Regions from separate parts of the Homo sapiens genome. Here regions 1 and 2 are each linked to region 3. The links are contacts of gene promoters, found by promoter capture Hi-C in blood cells and fetal thymus (Javierre and others, 2016). All regions are on one chromosome and are shown on one strand. The core of a region is centred on a gene start or on the middle of the fragment in contact, and the rest is flanking DNA. Distances in the headings are between cores, read along the strand shown.

The links. Contacts are between HindIII fragments. The CHiCAGO score rates a contact against its expected background, and 5 or more counts as called.
Region 1: a contact is called between the fragment with the promoter of SHC1 here and the fragment with the promoter of TPM3 in region 3, in 2 of 17 cell types (M0 macrophages and erythroblasts). The highest score is 6.4, in M0 macrophages.
Region 2: the fragment with the promoter of S100A2 here is called in contact with the fragment with the promoter of TPM3 in region 3 in 2 of 17 cell types (naive B cells and erythroblasts); the score reaches 7.4 in naive B cells.

The regions. Positions count from the first base shown.
Region 1 is chr1:154,968,710-154,972,707 of GRCh38, forward strand. SHC1 (SHC adaptor protein 1) reads right to left here and starts at 2,038. Exons shown (of 12, transcript NM_001130040.2): 1 at 1,323-2,038; 2 at 669-739; 3 at 62-125. The coding sequence starts at 1,817. RefSeq lists enhancers at 815-1,365, 1,366-1,916. The HindIII fragment of the contact is 11,130 bases long and covers 1-3,998 here.
Region 2 is chr1:153,563,119-153,567,263 of GRCh38, forward strand. It overlaps S100A2 (S100 calcium binding protein A2), which reads right to left and starts at 2,726. Exons shown (of 3, transcript NM_005978.4): 1 at 2,388-2,726; 2 at 616-769. The coding sequence starts at 759. RefSeq lists enhancers at 1,083-1,840, 1,841-2,598, 2,718-2,777, 2,751-3,950, 3,648-3,887 and 1 more. The HindIII fragment of the contact is 6,475 bases long and covers 975-4,145 here.
Region 3 is chr1:154,190,254-154,194,171 of GRCh38, forward strand. It overlaps TPM3 (tropomyosin 3), which reads right to left and starts at 1,847. Exons shown (of 10, transcript NM_152263.4): 1 at 1,649-1,847; 2 at 933-1,058. The coding sequence starts at 1,765. It overlaps MIR190B (microRNA 190b), which reads right to left and starts at 3,490; the gene lies at 3,412-3,490. The HindIII fragment of the contact is 3,875 bases long and covers 984-3,918 here.

The DNA of each region.
Region 1 (3,998 bases), core at 788-3,287, 780 kb after region 3:
GCCTCCCCACTGCCCCTCCACATTTCCCAGCAGCATCCCTATCCCCAAGGACCCCAAGTACCTTTCTCCTCCTTGTCGCCCCCTTAGCACCCGGCACAGCCTCACACACCAGACTGATGGCCTCCCTGGGGAAAGAGGGGTACTCAGACCCAGCGCCTGCCTGCCTGCCTCCCACTCAACTGGGGCTGCCACAGGGCTGGGGGAGGGGAAAGCCAGGCCAGACTCCCAGGGCACTCCAGGCTCTTTGTCATGGTGGATTGAATTAAGGGCCTTTAATATTTGATGACACTGAGAGGCCACTTCCTGGCTGATTGGGTTAGGGCCTCAATGGGTATAGCCCCACCCCCTTCCAGCTACCAAATGTCCCATTCCCTTCCCAAAGGCAGCAGCAACCTTCCATCTACCCCCCTTTTCTACTCCAGCTCCACCTGCCAGCTGCTTCTGCCACCTTCCCCACAACTCCCAAGGCTGGATAGGTAAGGAGGATCCGGGCCAAAGGGGCCTCCTTTCAGTAAGAGGCGGAATCACTACCTCAGCTTTCTCTCAATCCCCTTTACTACGCAAAGATCAGCCCCCAGCAGCAGCACCCAAGTGACCCACTCCCCTCCTCTGTTTCCCATGGCCTCACTAATCCCAGGACTCCCACAATCCACTCCCTCCCCACTAACCTGGTGACCTGAGTCCGGGTGTTGAAGTCCAGGGCACGCATTGACTGGAGGACCTCCACACAACCCATGTACTAAGGGGAGGGAGAAGAGGACAGCAGGTCAGCGGCTCCCCCACCCCAGCCCCTTCACAAAGGGCCCTAGGACTTTACCCATATGGTCCCTAAGGGAAGTAAAGAGGAAGAAGTTCTGCCCACTTCCCGTGGCTACATCCCACAACCAAGGTGAAAGACAACAGGGAATGAGGAGAAAAAGAAAAGGCAGGCTAGAAGGACCTCACACACTGGGGAGAGAGTTTGGAGGGGACCGACAGGCATTGGCTGGGATGGAGTGACAACTCCAGAAAGCGGGAGGAGAATGGAGGAAAGATCAAGAAGTCATTCATTCCAACACTTATTAAGAGCTTCTGCCATGCTGGGCATTGTGCTAAGCATGCCAGGGTGGGGGTGGGGGAGTGAAAAGAAGGAAGGGGGCCCAGGCAAAGCTGGAAGGGAAGGGGCTACAGAATCGGGGAAGGGATGAGAAAGGTTTAGGAAATAGGACACTGAAACGGGGTTGTTGGGGAACAGCAGGAAAAAAGAGATTCCGGCCAAGCTGGAGTGAGCATTAGAACTGGAGGGGGTCTGCGGGGGAATGGAGAGGAGGATGTTCACTCACCCGAACCAAGTAGGAAACCCCGGGTCCCATGACTTTGTCGTTGGGATGCAGCCAGCCCCGCGTGGGCTTATTGACAAAGCTCCCGTGGCGGGTCCACTCCTCGCCCCCAAGCTGGCCCCCTTCCACCCGAGTCCTGCGCCCGCCGCCTCCACTCAGCTTGTTCATGTCCTGGAGGAGGGGTAGGGGGCCTGAGTCTGGCATGGCTGCCCCTACGATCCCCTCCCCATCATCAGCTGCCCTTCCTGGCTCCCCCTTAGACCCTGGGCGCCCCCCAGCCGGGTTGGCCAGCCTCAGGTTGCTCATCCGGGGGAAGAAGGAGCACAGGGTAGTGGGACTATCGTCCCCAGGCAGAGGAGGCAGGATGGGCCCCAGGGATGAAGCTGATGGGGAAGGCAGCTCCTCCGGGGGGGTGGACCCAGAAGCCCCTTCCTCCAGCGATGACAGAGACTCATTCCGGAGTGGATTGTACTTGGGCTTGGGGGGCAGGAGATCCATAGTTGAGGTGAAAGAGGGGCTGCTGCCCAGCCTGGCCCCCCTGCCAGTTTGGGCAAGGGGGCCAGGCAGGGGGTATCCCCAGGCCCTTAGCCTGGTTGGACCTCTGTGGCCCAGGAGTCACAGAAGTCCTGGGGAGGGAGAGGGACAAGTGGCTTCCGCTCCCCAGCTCAGACCCAGACAGTTTCAGGCCCCATCCCCGCCCAACGTGGAGCCTCTTCTCTGGCTGAGAAGAGAACAGGCTGGACCCAGCGCTTCTGGCTCCTCCCCAGGGGCGGGGAGCTAAGGGGAGAGACCAATCGTGAGGACAGTGCTGACTCACAGGCTCAGAGGGGCTGAGCCCCCACCCCGCCCCAACCTCGAACTGGAGCAGGGGGTAGGGCTATCCAAGCCCCTCTCCCCTGCCCTATACAAACAACTAGTAATCTGGGGAGAAGTAAAGTGGGGGTGGGAGGGAAGGATGGAAGAGTGGGACGGAAAGGAAGGAGATAGGAGGTCTGGGTCACTCAAAACCGGACACACGCAGGCCAAAGGGGGCAGGAAGCCAGGCAGGAGTACAGGGGAATGAGGGAGGAAACAGAGGCAGCTGGGGGTGGAAAAGGGAGGAGATCTCAGAGCTCAGCATTTCCCTTCCTGTCCTGGTTGGACACTCGAATTCCCCCACCCTCTCTATGCCCGAAAGCTGGCTGGCCCCAGCCCAGGCCACCCCCAACCGCTACCCCATACAGTAAGCCTGGGCCATTAGCATCCTCTGCTACAGCAGCTGTGGACTGGAGCTAGCGAAGTGGGGATGGGAAGTAAGTGGTCCCAATGGATGCAGAGCAGGGCCAAGAGGAAGAGCAAAGCTGGTGAAAAAAGGGGAATAAAGTTCAACCTGGATGATACATCAGGAAGCTACCAGGCAAGAAGGGAACAAGAGGACATGCTGGTCACGGCTTGTTCTCTACGTATGCCATCTACCACACCAAGACCGATGGCTCATAGCCAAGCACTGTCCTGTCTCCCCTTTCCACAGGGCTTGTTAACACAGCACACTGTCAAGGGTGAGAATGAGGCAATCAGGTCCCCACTCCCACTCCAAACCACCCCAATTCACATCCCTCCTCTTACAGGGCCCTAAGCCCCACCAAAGAGCACAGCATCCTTCACACCAGGGAAGGAGCCTGGCTGGAGGAGGTGGAAGAAACAGTTCTCCAAGAGAAGTAGAAACTACAGGCCAGGAAGGGACAGAGAGATCAGAAGACACATCTGCGTCAATAAGGACAGGAGAAAAATAAGTACAGGAGAAAGGGGTGTCAGGAGAAGATGGGTTGAAGCTGGACACAGGGAACAGTCCCAAACCCATTCCTGCCACCCACGGCTTCCTGCCACTGCTCTTCCGGAGAATGCCACAGGCAAAGCTGGAAAGTGACCAAAAAAAAAAAAACAAAGATACGTATTCCTACCGGGCGCGGTGGCTCACACCTGTGATACCAGCACTTTGGGAGGCTGAGGCGGGTGGATCACCTGAAGTCAGGAGTTCGAGACCAGCCTGGTCAACATGGTGAAACCCTGTCTCTACTAAAAATACAAAAATTAGCTGGGCGTGGTGGCGGGCACCTGTAATCCCAGCTCAGGAGGCTGAGGCAGGAGAATCGCTCGAACCCAGGAGGCGGAGGTTGCAGTGAGCCGAGATCGAGCCATTGCACTCCAGCCTAGGTGACAAGAGCAAAACTCCGTCTCAAAAAAAAAAAAATACGTATTCCCCCCAGCTCACCTTGGAATTACCCTTAGATTTACTTCAGAGAATTAAAATATAGATAGATAATTATCCTGATTAACAACATTAACACTTGAAGTGTGTTAGATGCTGTGCTTAACTCTTACATCTCCCCTTAGTGCTCATTCCAGAAGAGCTTTGTCACTCTGCCAGCCAATCCTGAGAAGGAATTTTATCACTTCATTTCCAGCCAGCTCTCGGGCATAGAGAGAATGAGGAAAGGATTCCACCATAGCCTCACACCCCCAAAACACACAAACACACACTAGGATGTCCCTCATCTGTAGAGATGATGTTCTGTGGGAGCCTACAGTATCCAGAGCCAGGGAAGGACCAACGGGTGTGGGCGTTCGGAAGAAAAGAAAGACGTATGACTCTTGAAATTTACATAGGGAGAAAGGAGATTGCCTACTGGAAGTCCAGGT
Region 2 (4,145 bases), core at 1,476-3,975, 630 kb before region 3:
CAAAAATCACTTTGGGAAGCCGAGGCAGGTAGATCACGAGGTCAGGAGTTCGAGACCAGCCTGGCCAATATGGTGAAACCCTGTCTCTACTAAAAATACAAAAATTAGCTGGGCGTAGTGGGATGCGCCTGTAGTCCCAGCTACTCAGGAGGCTGAGACAGGAGAATTGCTTGACCCCTGGAGGCAGAGGTTGCAGTGAGCCGAGATCGTGCCATTGCACTCCAGCCTGGGCAACAAGAGGGAAACTCCATCTCAAAAAAAAAAAAAAGAAAAGAAAAGAGAGAGAGAGAACGTGCCAGTGCTGTGTGATCTTGGGACAATCACTTTTCCCTTCTGGGCTCTGGTTTCTCAAGTCTCCAATGACAGGATTAAACAGATGGACTCGGAAGGCCCTCACAGCACATGGTTCTCTGGAATGCTGCAGGAAACAGCCATTAATTAAGCACTCCCACTCGGGCCTCATTTCCACTCCAGTGGAGCCATGAAGCTAAAGTGGGGAGGGGGCTGGGCCCCACCCTGGCACCTGCATCGACAGGCACCCGGAACTGGGGGAGAGATTTAACCTGCACCCCCACACTCACACCAGGACCTCCCCCACAGGCCTGTGCCACTCACCCCCACAAAGCTGGGCAGCTCCTTGTGCAGAAGTTCCTTCATTTCCCCCTTACTCAGCTTGAACTTGTCGCCCTCTTGGCAGGAGTACTTGTGGAAGGTAGTGACCAGCACAGCCAGCGCCTGCTCCAGAGAACTGCACATCATGGATCTGTGGCTGCAGAGGTGCCAGGTGATGGGTACACTGCTGAGGCTCTTGGGGCCTTAGCTCAGCCTGTAGGATCCACTTCTGCCCTATGCCCCCAAGCCACCTCACAAAACCCCTCTCTGAATGGGAAGGCAGGGGCTGCATCTCCCCCTCAGACTGTGGTTCCCTGAGGCCGGAGGCGATACCTCCATCTCACCCTGAGGGCAGACGCTAAAGCTTCCCTTGTGTCTGGGAGTCACCAAGCCTCCTCTGATGGCACTTGGGACACCCCCCTGAGGGCAGGGCTCCCCATTTTAGTGTCTGCCAGAAGGGAAATGACAGGGTGACCAGAGTCCCATTTTGATGGCATCTGCGCAGGCTCTGGGGAGCAGGGCCACATGCACCGGCTGGCAGATGGGGGCTCCTGTGCAGTCTGGCAGGAGCCATGGCTACAGCCTAGGAGCAGGAAGCTCCCTGAAGGAGTCGTTTCCCTCCTTAGACTCGGGACTCCTGAAGCCAGAGGCATCTCTCTCTGCCATCTAACTGGAAGCTCCCTTGGGCAGGAGTGTTTCCTCTCTCAGACTAGGAGCTCCCAGAGGGTGGGGAATGTGTCTCCCCTCACCCTGAAGGCCCCTGAGCCTCTAGGCAGACAGGGGCATGGATAGGGTGGGGGCAACTTAACATTCTCTCCACCAGGAAGGATCCTGTTGGAATTAGAATTAAAGATATGAAATGTTCATTGCCTTGGGATCAGGATGGGACAGACCTCAGCGGCAAGGCCTCTGAGAATACTCAGACCAGCCTGGAAAGGTTAGGCAGGTTTCAGGGTGAGGCCAGAGGAGCTATGCCAGAGGCAGGGCATGCCCTGGGCCCATCATGCCAGCCCTGCCTTCACCGAGGCAGGGGGCAGAGCTTTGCTGCTTGGGGCCATGACCCAGGCAGAGTCTTGAGACCCCTGCCTCTTGCACCTTAGTCCTGCTAGAATCCAGGACTTTGCAAAAAAAAAAAAAAATCTCAGGATTCTTTTTGCAGCAACGCCCACATGCACACCTCCTGCTCCTAGGCCTAGACCCCCAAAGAAGGGCCCCTAGACTGAGATATCCAGGGGAGGGCCTCAGAGCAACCCCTGCACTGAGACCTCACAGAGGAACCTGGAGAAAAACCCTTCAGTCGGCCGGGCGCGGTGGCTTACTCCTGTAATCCCAGCACTTTGGGAGGCCGAGATGGGTGGATCACGAGATCAGGAGATCGAGACCATCCTGGCTAACATGGTGAAACCCCATCTCTACTAAAAATACAAAAAAATTAGCCGGGCATGGTGGTGGGCGCCTGCAGTCCCAGCTACTCGGGAGGCTGAGGCAGGAGAATGGCGTGAACCTGGGAGGGGGAGTTTGCAGTGAGCTGAGATCACACCACTGTACTCCAGCCTGGGCGACAGAGCGAGACTCCATCTCAAAAAAAAAAAAAAAAAAAAAAAACCCTTCAGTCAACACTTCAGCACTTCACAGAGAGTTCTTCCAAGGGGGAAGGCCCAGAGAGGCCCAGGTTGATCCCACCAGGGAAGCTGGAATGAGAGAACTGTGGAGACAAAGACAGAGACCCACGGGGATCCTCCCCACCCTGCCCTCAGCAGGACAGAGGTACTCACCAGACCAGGTGGCAGAGACAGACCCAGGAAGGAGAGCAAGGCAGCCAGGCTCCCAGGGTGAGGATTTATATGTGGGCCCCACTGGCCCCCAACTTGGCATTTTAAGGAAACCAAACCTGCCTCAACCTGATCCCACCAAACCCTGGCCTCTTGCCATTCCCACTCATTCCCTCCCAGCCCCCTCCCTCCCAGAGAGTGCCAGCTCCACCACCAGCTGGGGGAGGGCTCTAGGCCAGGTCAAGGGCAGCCCCTGAGCCCACCCAGGCCACAGTGGGAAGTGGGAGGTGTCGTGGGGACTGGGCATCCTGGACCGGGGTGAGGGGAGGCAACCCCTGCTCTGGGGCCTGGAGACTGGTGCCAGGCCTCATTCTCATGACATGCCTGTGAGTCACAGCCCACTCCTGTGTGAGAGGCTGTGAGCACACGCTGAGACTTCATGGTCCAGTGCTCGTGTACATACATGCGCCCGTGTGTGTGAGAGAGAAGCAACCTGGGGCCACCCTTAGGAAGCTGGGGGCCAGAGGAGGCAGCTGGGGGACATCAGGAGGAGAAGGACAGGACTGACTTCAGGGCATGGATGAAGTGGAGTGACTTTTAATGGCCAGCACCAGAATACCTCTTAATGAGGTAATGAGGTAACTAAGTGTGCTTAGAAATACCTGGGAAGGTCCCTCTGTGTAGGAAGGTGTCTGGAAGGATGGGGAAGCAGTGAGAAATGGGGTTGCTCTACACACAGCCGCAGTTGGGCTGGGCCACAGTCTGTGGGGAGCATAAGGAAGTCCCGAGTAGTTAAAGGCTGAACAGGAAAACTTTGGCCTCCTCTTCTCCAGCTTGAGGGCTGGGTGGGTGGGTAGGGGTACATCCCTACCCAAGGCTGAAAACACCAGCTGGACAGCTTCCCAAGCCAGAATCCAGGCCTGAAGCACAGCCCTCAGCCACAGCCCTCTCTCACTGCCCCCCACACACATGTCCTCCCCAGACCCGGAGAAAGGCAAACACTGTGGCCATTCAGAGCCCAGCCCAAGGGAGGGCTGCCCCCTCCCAGGGCCCCTTCCTCCTTGGCCCTTTGTCTATCCCGGCCCGTCTGGGCATCAGGGCACCGCCCTTCCTGTGGCCCCAGCTCCCCTCCCTGCTCCAGCTGTCGAGTAGCTTCTTCCCCTCCCCCAGCCCCTCTACCTCAGCCCTAAGTGACTCACCCGAGGTTCCAGGCCCAGATGCCCAGGCAGTGACTCAGCGGCACACCCTCCTCCCCCAGGGCCAGGGCAGCAGCAGTCCCAGAGCAGTAGGTGGAAGCCCCAGCCCAGCCTGGCAGGGAAAGCACTGGCACAGAGACCCCAAACAGGCCCTGCCAGGAGGAGCTTTGGATAATGACATGGCAGGAGGATCAGACTGAGAACAGGCTGGTCCCTTCCTAGCGGTCACCGTGTGACTTGGGGGCCAGCCTGAGCAGTGTACATGAAGTCAGGCCTTGGGGCCCCCAGTGTCCTCTTCTACACCTTGGCACAGCCACCGAGTGTCCCTTGCTCCCCTCAGTACTTGAACCCCTCATGCTACTTGTCTTCCCATCGAGGCCTACTTCAAGTAGAACTCGGAATAAAAACCCTTCACACTGAGGGTGAGGGACAAGGGAGCGCAATGCATCGATTTTCACAGCCATTCTTTCCTTTTAACTAAGGGCCTCCACAGGGCCTTCCCTGCTCAGAAACTGCAGTGCATCCCCATGGCTGTCCCTTAAAGCCAGGCGGTATGTTCTCACTC
Region 3 (3,918 bases), core at 597-3,096:
TAAATATTACATGCTCCTTTTTTCCTATTAACTCAGTTCACTGAGAAACTTGTTTCCACCAATACTGGGACATTTCTGTTGTTGTTGGTAAGATTCCTATGGTACTTTTCTTCTAAAAAACTTTTCAATCTACTCTCTCATTTATCTTTGCAGCAAACTTCAAGGTTAAAGATGAAGGAAAGTAGGTGATGATGATGGGATAATATGAGATGGAAAAGAGAATTTATTTTATTTGAGAATGGGAAAATTCAGCCCTAGACAAGCTGAGTAATTACTCACGGTCATAGAGTGAAGTCTGGTGGTGATACCTTTACCCCCTAAGATTCTTTCTTAGTTTCTATTATACTCTGTCACTGTAGGGATCTCTCTGCTGCCCTAGGAGCAATGCTTCATATGGCATCTCCATGGCATAAAGGCAAATGCCTGCATTGGCCAAGATAAATAAACCCATATATGGCCAGGGTCAGTGTGACCTCCATTTCCCATTGTGAAATCCGAGCTGGTTTTGTTGGACAGTTGAGAGATGAGAGGTTCCCTATTAATACACATATCCACATGCCAAGACTTGGACATAAAAGCTAAGAATGTGGCATGGGGGAGGAGGTAGGATAAGTGACAGCATTCTGAACTTAGAGTCCCCTCTCTTTGTCCAGGTCCTGGGAAAGATAATTAAATTCCTGGGTTGGTGATAGGAGATAAATGAGACCTTTACATGTATTAAAAAAAAACTTTTAACATGTTGGAGATGTCTTTAAGAAAGAAAATACATGCCATTATGAGAATATACCAGCATGTGGTTATATGCAAAAATGTATGTGAGTATATATGTCTGTGTTCCATGAACCCACAAGTGTGTTTGGAATTTCGTCATACATTAACATAAAGATCTATATGTGTAGATTAAACCCATCCTCCATCTCTCTAATACTCACATCAGCAGCCTTCTTCTCTGCCAGTTCCAGCTTCTCCTGGGCATCCTTCAAAGCTTCAGAATACTTGTCCAGCTCATCCTCTGTCCCTTTCAGCTTCTTCTGCATGGCTGCCAGCTCATCCTCCAGCTATAGGAGCCCAGAGAGTCACACACAAAAACACACAAACACAACAATGCAGGGTTGGACCCTGGGCTCTTGGAGCCCTGAGTGTAACCTCCATGTTACCATCCCTAGTGAGACACACTTTCTCCCCAGCCACTTCCAGCCCACTGCCTCAGGAGTTATGCCGTAGCTTGGCCTGTGACCCTGTAATCTCTGATCCTAAGATGACCAAGCCATCCTGGGTTTTCATCCAAGACCCCTGGATGATAAATATCTAAAGTGTAGATGCCCGTGATGCTATTTGAGTGAAAAGAGATGCTCTTTCCCTCTAGAACTCTTACCTTTTCCTCTAGAAGTCAAGGGTTCTTCCAAAACATGGTCCATTTCTACTTAAATTCAGCAGACATACTGTGGCTCACTGACTTTCCCAAGGTCACAAAGGCAGTCTGAGACAGATATGTTAGATATCCTCTGCTCCTCCAGTGAGGCTGGGGAGTCCATCCCACCCCCAAAAAGGAGGTGACACCAGTAGTCACTGTCTTTCCCATGAAAACTCCCTTCCATTTCACAGTCTTGTTCACTAGCAGATGAGAGAGATCAATGCCAGTGCCTACCTGTTTACTTCTTTCTTCTGCCTGCTTCTGCTCAGCTTCAGCTTGCTCTGCCCGATCCAGAGCATTCTCCTTGTCTAACTTCAGCATCTGCATCTTTTTCTTGATGGCCTCCATCATGAGCAGTGGCTGTTGGTAGGCTCACCTGTGAACACTGGAGAACTGGAGACTGGGGCAAGAAAGAAGGGGCTGCTGCCTGAGTGACCAGGAGGTCCCCAGACTTGAGTCTTTATCTGTGCTCATAGCTCCACCTTTTGTTCCTAATATGGTCTTTCCAGCTCCCTCCACCCCATCATTGTTCTCCTGGGGGAACACAGGGTGAGACGCTTTGATGAACTGACATCACCAGCAAAAAAAATATCTAGCAACAGCTGAGGCTGATTTTAGACAATGGAAAGTGGGGGAGGGAAGAGGTTCTCCCTGACCCTGAAACTTTCCACTCATTCTGGGCAGCTCTATGGATGTTTTAAAAGAAGAGGAAGAGGGGAGGGAAGAACATTGAAATAGAGAAGTGTACTTTGGCAATTCTAGGTTGGCAGTTTGCATCCAGGGGGTCCTGGTTGCCTTTCAGCTTCCCGTTTCACTCTCCCCCAGACTGTGTTGAATGCTGGTCAAACTCCGTTAGTTGAGTTTTAGCTTTTGATTCCTGGTATTCAAGGAGCTTGGGCACAGGGAAGAGGGGAGGTCACTCATGATCCTTAACAATTCTCCCAGATCCCCAGATCAAATTGCTGTGCTATTCTGGGAGTCTCCGATTGGCAGGGAGACGTTTTTCCTCCCCACCAAGAGCCACAAGAGTAGAGTAAGAGGTAGGGTTGGAATCTCCAACCCTATCCTTGAAGGCTATCCCAGAGCTTCAAGTGGGGTGGGGAGAGAAACAGGGGAGGGTCAGAACAATCCAGACAGGATCATACCCTTTGTTTTCCCACAGTAATCTTAAAATAGAACTGTTGTACCCACACAGACTTTGGTCTGTGTGGCTCTCTCCTCTTCTTCCCTTTATCTTCTCCCTTCTTAATTCTCCCCAACGCTGCCACTCACCACATCATCGTAATCATCATTATCAGCTCTATTCTTTCCAGTTTAGTTCCAGACCATGTTTATTCTTCCATTGGGAGCCTTGTTACTAACAGGTGGCAAGGATACCAGTCCACTGGCACCATACACCTGAAAATATGCCAAGGGAGAGGTGGGCACTGTTCAAGGTGACCAGATATATTGGACAAATATAAATGGCTCTAGTTAGTCATTTATGTCAGGATACTGAGAGTTAATGCTAAGCCCCAGCAATGGGGGAACGGAGACACCCACCAGGCCAGTGGGTAGAGCAGAGCTGGAGTCCACTATTGAGAGCTTCCAGTCACTAGAGGTAGATAGGCAGATAGACCATCAGCTGACTCTCGACAGAGAGAGGAGAAACCAAGTCTCCTTTCTCTGGAGATTAGCCAGGGAAAGGGGTTAGGGAACAGGGAGAGGAAGGAGTGGAAAATGGGGGGGGGGTGGGCAAGTGAATAAGGGGGAGAAAAATACGAGGACAAGAAAAGGCAAAGAAATGTCCCTTCTAGTATAAGGGGACAAGAAATAGAAAGATTCTATCCTCAAATTCCAACTCTCTCCCATTCCCACACCAGCCCTCTTAGGTTAAGATTGAAATGCACATAGGTTGCAGCTACTGGACTTTTGGGGGGGTCCTGGAGAGAAGAGGTTCAGTAAAAGAGACAGGAGCCCCAGAGATTGAAGTATGAAAGAGGGTGGTGCTGAATCACCTGCTGCTGTAAGAATATGTTTGACATTTAGTTGGTTCCTAATTAAACAACCCAATATCAAACATATCACACAGAAGCAGGCAGGAGAGCTTTGGGGGTCATCTGCCTTCCTTCCAGTTGCAAAGAAAGAATAGAGCAGACACCAGGCACCAATCATGTCTAGGTGGAGAGCCATCTCCTTGAGGAAGGGTACTGGCTCCTGCTCTTCACCTCCCAAGACAGCCAGCTCTTGCTTATTGTCCTACGTGTCATCCCTGCCTCAGCTCCTCCTCTACAAGCTCCTGGCCTTTGCTGGATCACGTTGGCCTAAACCAGGAAGAATACCTGGCAGGGCTCCACATCCGGGCAACTATCGTTCCCTAGAGCTCCCACACAGAGCTTCTCACCCTGATGTCACGGCCCCAGCGCCCAGAGGATCAGCCGTGTCAGCAGCTCCTCATCAAAATTGCCACCTGCTCTCTTCAATGCCATTCCAGCTGCCCTGAGGCTTTCCGGGGTGGGGGCAGA